2 separate regions of the Homo sapiens genome follow, and region 2 is linked to region 1. Evidence: promoter capture Hi-C in 16 types of primary human blood cells and fetal thymus (Javierre and others, 2016). All regions are on one chromosome and are shown on one strand. Each heading gives the region's core, a stretch centred on a gene start or on the middle of the fragment in contact. The rest is flanking DNA. Distances are from core to core; before and after follow the strand shown.

What was found. Contacts are between HindIII fragments. The CHiCAGO score rates a contact against its expected background, and 5 or more counts as called.
Region 2: a contact is called between a fragment that was not itself captured here and the fragment with the promoter of SRRM3 in region 1, in 4 of 17 cell types (megakaryocytes, erythroblasts, M2 macrophages and 1 more). The highest score is 7.1, in megakaryocytes.

What each region holds. Positions count from the first base shown.
Region 1 is chr7:76,200,646-76,203,998 of GRCh38, reverse strand. SRRM3 (serine/arginine repetitive matrix 3) reads right to left here and starts at 2,103. Exons shown (of 15, transcript NM_001110199.3): 1 at 1,932-2,103. RefSeq lists a silencer at 2,017-2,256. The HindIII fragment of the contact is 9,812 bases long and covers 318-3,353 here.
Region 2 is chr7:75,685,361-75,688,713 of GRCh38, reverse strand. The region is part of intron 1 of HIP1 (huntingtin interacting protein 1); the gene reads left to right. Among named protein-coding and RNA genes, the nearest start is that of HIP1, 52 kb to the left of the region's middle. The HindIII fragment of the contact is 1,652 bases long and covers 707-2,358 here.

The sequences.
Region 1 (3,353 bases), core at 854-3,353:
ACGGGGTAGAGGCACCCCGCTGGCCGGTTCAAGGCACATTCTACCTCTAAGTATCCCAGTGACCTTGTGGGAGTCACCTCCTTACTGCACTGTATGCCCTCACCCACCTGCCTCAGGCTCCCCACCTGTAAAGCTGGCATCATAAATCAAGACACTGGCATTGAACTGGGCCTTGATACTCAGAGGATGGGACAGGTCATCAGTAACTCTCCTGCCTCCAGGAGGACAGCGCGAGTGGCTTCATGACCTTGGGAAAGTCACTCAAGCTTCATTTCTCAGCTATGAAATAGGGACAATGATGCCTTCCTCATGAAGCTTCTGTGAGGATTAGCTGAGTCAACCGTTGCATTGTGCCCAGCATGGAGCTGGGCATGAGGCTCTCAACCACTGTTCATCTCCTCTGGGAACAGAAAAATGTGCTTCAAATATCACTGAACACTATTCCACATTTATCCAGCTCTTCTTTAAGAAATTCTTACTTGTCTCCTATTTACTAACACTCACCCAGCATTTTATACCGTAAAAGTAGTCTCCCATCTCCTTATCCAGATTATTTCTTTCAACAGCAAAGTAGACATTGCTAACACTACACCTGTTTTACAGATTGAAAACAGACTCAGAAAGGTCAATGGCTTACCTGAGGTCACATAACCTAGATTTGATCCCATGTCTTTCTGACATCAGAGTCCATGACTCCCAACCCACATACCCCTACCTCTTAAAACCCAGTTGACTCTTTAGTCAGTCTTCAAGAATACCTCCTCCACCCCACAGGAGAGTGGGATGGGGCATAAAGTTAAGGAACCAGAAAGCTACTGCTGTGTGGGAACAATTTCCTAGCCAGCTGGGTCCTATTTTTGACTGAGGAAGAAGCTGGCACAAACTGGGGCCATGACCTTAAGATGCTCCCTGGACAGAGGAACTTGTGCACGTCTCTCCGTCAAAGCCCAGCACCTGCCTTTTCTCTTGCCATGGGACAAAAGACCAGCTCAAGCCCCCGATGCTAGGGTGAGTGAGGTCTTAGGACAGCGAGAAGTTATGGCTGGGATAGGGCACAGGCATTGAAGTACCACGTCAGACCTTGGTACAACCTTCCCTTCCTCCCACTAAATCTCTCCCCACAATGGATCTGCTGTCAGGAGTAGGAACTGCAGGAGGCTTCAACACTGTCCAGGCAGGAGCCCTGGGAGGGAGGGGGAGGCGGAGGCAAGGCAGAGGCTGCGTCTTTTCTCAGCTCTCTTCTTTACCAGGAATTCACTCTGGCGCAGGTCTAACTCTGGGCTAGAAACTCTCTCTGGGCGTCCGTGGTTGGGGTGGGGGGTGTGCACAGAGAACCCCCTCCCAAATTCCTAGTAGCTATTTTCTCTTCTGTGTCCTCCATCCTCTTCCCAGTGCAAGAGTAAATGCCATCCTGTGAGACCCAGTTCTCCTTGCCAGCTCCTGCCTCCCTAGGGGCATTTGGGTAGCCGGGAAAGGGGCCAGGCTGTCCCCTGGGCCGGCACCTCCTGCTGGACAGAGGCCCAGCATCCAGGTGGGGGCCTGCTCCCTTCACCAGGGCCAGTGACCAGCATCTCCACAGGGTTACTGCATCGGTCCTCCCTTCCCTGGGGAGCAGGTCCTTCTCCTCAGTGGGACTGCGGTTGGGGGGCCTCCCTGGCACCCTCATGGACTAGGCCATGGTCATTTATGCCCAGGGGAGTCCTGCCCATGACCCCAAAGGTCTCCACTGTCTCCATCCCTCTCAGTGAAATGAATGTTCCTCATCTCTGCTCCCCGGGCGCCTGGCACCCCCGGACAGACGCCCTCGCCGACCTCCCACACTGCCCCTCTGCTCGGGGGAGCCTGCAGACCACGGGGGTGCTGGGGAGGCCCGAGCTTCCACCCAGCCCCAGCCCCTCGGGGATATGCCCCCGCCCCACAGGCGCTCTCACCTCACCGCTGACCGCCGCGATCTACCGGGCGCTGGGGCCAGGCCCTCGGGTCCCGCCGGTCCGGGCTGCCGCCTAGTCTGGGCTGAGTTGGGCAGGGCAGCTCCGCGGCCCCCACGGCCCCGCACCCTCTGCCTCCCCGCGGGTGCTGCCGCCGCTTGCTGAAATGCTGGACAGCGCACCGCCACCGAGGCGCCTCTCTGCTCGCCCGCCAGCCAGAGCGGCCCAGCCCCGCGCCCGCAGCGCCCTCCGCAGGCCTGGAGGAACGCCCGCAGCGGAGGCAACAGCCCGGGCGGCTGGGCCGGGCCGTCTCCCGGCCGGCTCCCCCTCCTCCCCGCCCCCTTCGCCCCCCTCCCCCCCTTCCCCTCGCCCCTCACCTCCCCACACCCCCGCCCCTATCCCCAGCCCCCGGGGACATCTGTTTCCCCCACTTGCGAGAGGAGGCATGTCAGCCCTGGAAGGCGCCTGGGGCAAGGGAGGTTATTAGTTTGGATCTGGGAAATGCAGTCGGTGTGCAGAGGCCTCGCCAGGACACTCTCTTCCCACCCAGTGTTAAAGAAGGCACCAGGGGCTGGGCGCGGTGGCTCACGCCTATAATCCCAGCACTTTGGGAGACTGAGGCGGGAGGATCACTTGAGGCCAGGAATTCGAGACCAGCCTGGCCAACATGGTGAAACCCAGTCTCTACTAAAAATACAAAAATTAGCCAGGCGTGGTCGCAGGCACCTGTAATCCCAACTACTCAGCTACTTGGGAGGCTGAGGCAGGAGAATCGCTTGAATCTGGGAGGCGGAGTTGCAGTGAGCCAAGATCGCACCATTGCACTCCAGACTGGGCGACAAGAGCAAGACTTAGGGTCAAAAATAAAATAAAATAAAATAAAATAAAAGGCACCAGGGAGGTGAGGTGGGAGGATCGCTGGAGCCCAGGAATTTGAGGCTGCAGTGACCTATGGTGGCGCCACTGCACTCCAGCCTGAATGACAGAGGCTGTCATTTTTTGACACCATCTCAAAAATTTAAAAAAAAAAAAAGGAGGGTGTAGTGTGAGAGACATCCTAATGGAGACAGGAGATTTTAAATTATTTTTTTAAATTTTAAAATTTTGGCTGGATGCAGTGGCTCACATCTGTAATCCTAACATTTTAGGAGGCTGAGGTGGGAAATCACTGAGCTCAGGAGTTTGAGACCAGCCAGGCCAACATGAGGAAACCCTGTCTCTATGAAAAATACAAAAATTTGCCAGATGTGGTGGCATGCATGCACCTGTGGTCCCAGCTACTTGGGAGGCTGAAGTGGGAGGAAGGCTTGAGCCTGAGAAGCGAAGGTTGCAGTGAACCAAGATTGCTCCATTGCACTCCATCCTAGGTGACAGAGCCTCAATTTGTCTCAAAAACAAAAACAAAACAAAAAAACAAAAACAACA
Region 2 (3,353 bases), core at 283-2,782, 510 kb after region 1:
ACCTCCCACCTGCTGGTTTGGTGCAGCTGTCCCGGGAGAGGACCAAAGGCCACCGAGGGAGGGAGGAAGGGAGTAGGCAGCTGCTGGTGGTGGGCTCGGGGCCAGACCCGGACGGCGGGTGGAGGGTGTGCGTGGGGGGCCTGACAGGTGGGGCTTTGTGTCCTGGATGCCCAAGCAGATCTCCCCTTAGTGCGGCTTCCTGTCAGCCGGGCTGCACTTGTGCGCTTGGCTGCCTGCCCGTCCCCCACCCGTCGAGGGGCTCCACCGACAGCTCATCCCCCCCACCCCCTGCAGACGCAGCATGATGGACTCCCCTGGGAGCCCGGACCCGGCGCGCCCCCGGCCGTTCTTCCTTGGCTCTCATTGTAGGGCTGAGGGACTTCTGCGTGTGTGGTGAGGAGTCTCCCTTTCCCTCCACCCAACAGCTCTGCAAGCTCCTGCCCTGCCCCAGGGGAGGAACCCCTGGTGGCTTCACAAGGGCGGTCCCACCTCCCGGATTGTGGCCCACGGAGGGGTGTTGGTGGTGTGGGCAGGTGCTGTGTTGCATCCAGGATGAGGGAAGAACCACAGTCTTTGCCCTCAGTTTAGTGGAGGAGAGAGACTCCTAACTAACAAGTAGACTGAGTTTAGTGGCTGAGGTGTGGAGGGGATGGTAAGTGGCCTTCAGGGGGACAGGAGGCCTCTTTCTAGTTGGGGAGGATAAGCTTACAAAAGTGGTACCACATGGGCTAGCCTGGAAGAACTCTTACAGCCCAGGACTCAAGAGAGAAAATCCAGCGCTCCAGAGAGAAAATTCAGCAGTGAAAACATCACATGGAAAGGCCTGGAGGCATGGGAGACAGCCAGGTTCTGGGAACACGGAGGGTTCAGGAGTAGGGGCTGGGAAGAGAGGAAGGCACCATGGAAAGGAGGCTGGGAAGGAAGGTTGGGCCCAGCTTGTGGGTCATAAGAGACTTTAAAGGTGGAGAGACTGGCAAGAGCCAGATGAGTTTTTTGTTTGATTGTTTTGTTTTGTTTTGTTTGAGACGGAGTTCCGCTCTTGTCTCCCAGGCTGGAGTGCAATGGCGCCATCTCGGCTCACTGCAACCTCTGCCTCCTGGGTTCAAGCAATACTCCTGCCTCAGCCTCCCATGTAGCTGGGATTACAGGTGCCCGCCACCAAGCCTGGCTAATTTTGTATTCTTAGTAGAGATGGGGTTTCGCCATGTTGCCAAGGCTGGTCTCGAACTCCTGACCTCAGGTGATCCTCCCGCCTTGGCCTCCCAAAGTGATGAGATTACAGGCATGAGCCACCGTGCCCGGCCCAGATGTGTTTTAGAAAAATAGATATTCACAGCAGGATAAAGAAGAGGTGGCAACAAGAGAGACCAGCAAGGAGATAAACTGGGAAGTTATTGTAAAAAGTTCAGACATGAGAAAGGTACTGGGGGCCAGCCACAGGGATTGGCTCCTGCTTCTGGGAGGTGCCTCTAGACTCCTGGAGGGAAGGCCAGGGGCTGCCTGAGACTTTCGGTAACAGCCTCAGAGTGGTCGAGGATTCGACCCAAGTTCCACTACCTTTCATTAGGGATGTTTTGTAAACTGTCAAGTGCTGTACAAATGTCCATTTGTTTCTCTTTTCTCCTTAATGAACTTCAGAGACCAGAACAGAAAATCCTGCTGCCACAAATACCAGAAATGCTCGATAAAGAAAACAAATTTCCTTTTAGACACATAGCAAAGCTCATCAGGCTGGGAGTAGTGGCTCATGCCTGGAATCCCAGCACTTTGGGAGGCTGAGGGTGGAGGATCATTTGAGTCCAGGAATTTGAAGCCAGCCTGGGCAACATACAAGACCCTGTACCTACAAAAAAAAAAAAAAAAAAAAAAAGAACTAAAATAATACCAGGTGTAGCAGCATGCACCTGCACTGTAGTCCCAGCCACTTGGGAGGCTAAGAGGGGAGGATGGCTTGAGCCCAGGAGGTCAAGGCTGCAGTGAGCCAGGATTGCACCAGTGCACTCCAGCCTGGACAAAAGAGTGAAACTCTGTCTCAAAAACAAACAACAACAAAAAAAAAATGAGAAAAGAGAAGGAAAATAAATGGTCATCAGTTGATAAGAAAATCCCTCTCTCTCCTTCCTTATCTCCTTCCAGCATTTTCCAGGGCCCTTCCCAAATACCAAATAAGCTCCCTGCGCTGACATCCTTGTCTCAGAGTCTGCTTCCATGGGAACCCCAGCTAAGAGGAATTCTTCAATACATGACGCTAGAGCAACTGGTTCTGCACAGGGAGAAATAAAATTAGAATATTACTTTATGCCTTAACTACAAATAAATTCCGAGTGTATTAAAGGCCTAACTGCGAAAACCAAAGCTTTTAAACTTTTCAAAAAAAATACGAGAGAATATCTTTATGATCTTAGTTTCAATAGGGAAAAAAATTCTTAAGACACCAAAAGCATATAAATAAAGGAAGATGTTGATAAAATTGACAACCTTGTCAATAAAAGATGCCATTGTACATAAAAAGGCCACAGGCTGGGGCCGGGTGCAGTGGCTCACGCCTGTAATCCCGGTACTTTGGGAGGCCGAGGCAGGTGGATTACTTGAGGCCAGGAGTTCAAGACCAGCCTGGCCAAAAAACACTCTCTCTACTAAAAATACAAAAATTAGCCAGGTGTGGTGGCACACACCCGTAATCCCAGCTACTAGGGAGGCTGAGGCACAAGAATTGCTTGAGCCTGAGAAGTGGAGGTTGTAGTGAGCCAAGATCACGCCACTGTACTCCAGCCTAGGCGACAGAGACTCCGTCTCAAAACAGAACAACAACAACAAAAAAAGGCCACAGGCAGAATAAGCTATTTGTGGTAGAGAAAACTGACAGGCCGGGCGCAGTGGCTCATGCCTGTAATCCCAGCACTTTGGGAGGCCGAGGTGGGCAGATCACCTGAGGTCAGGAGTTCAAAACCAGCCTGGCCAACATGGGAAAAACCCGTCTCTACTAAAAATACAAAAATTAGCCGGGCGTGGTGGCGGGTGCCTGTAATCCCAGCTACGTGGGAGGCTGAGGCAGGAGAATTGCTTGAACCCAGGAGTTGGAGGCTGCAATGAGCTGAGATTGCACCATTGCACTCCAGCCTGGGCGACAAGAGCGAGACTTCGTCTCACAAAAAAGAAAACTGACAAAGAATTGGGAATCAGAATATATGAAGAACTAGCACAGAGCTATAAGAAGGAAACCGCAACCCAGTGGAAAAGTGGGCAAAGACATCAGTAGGCATTTCACGGAAGAGGAAATGTGAACCGTAGGGAGCACACGCAATACCATTTCACAGTGGAAATTTAAAAGCCCAACAAAACAAGTGTTGGTG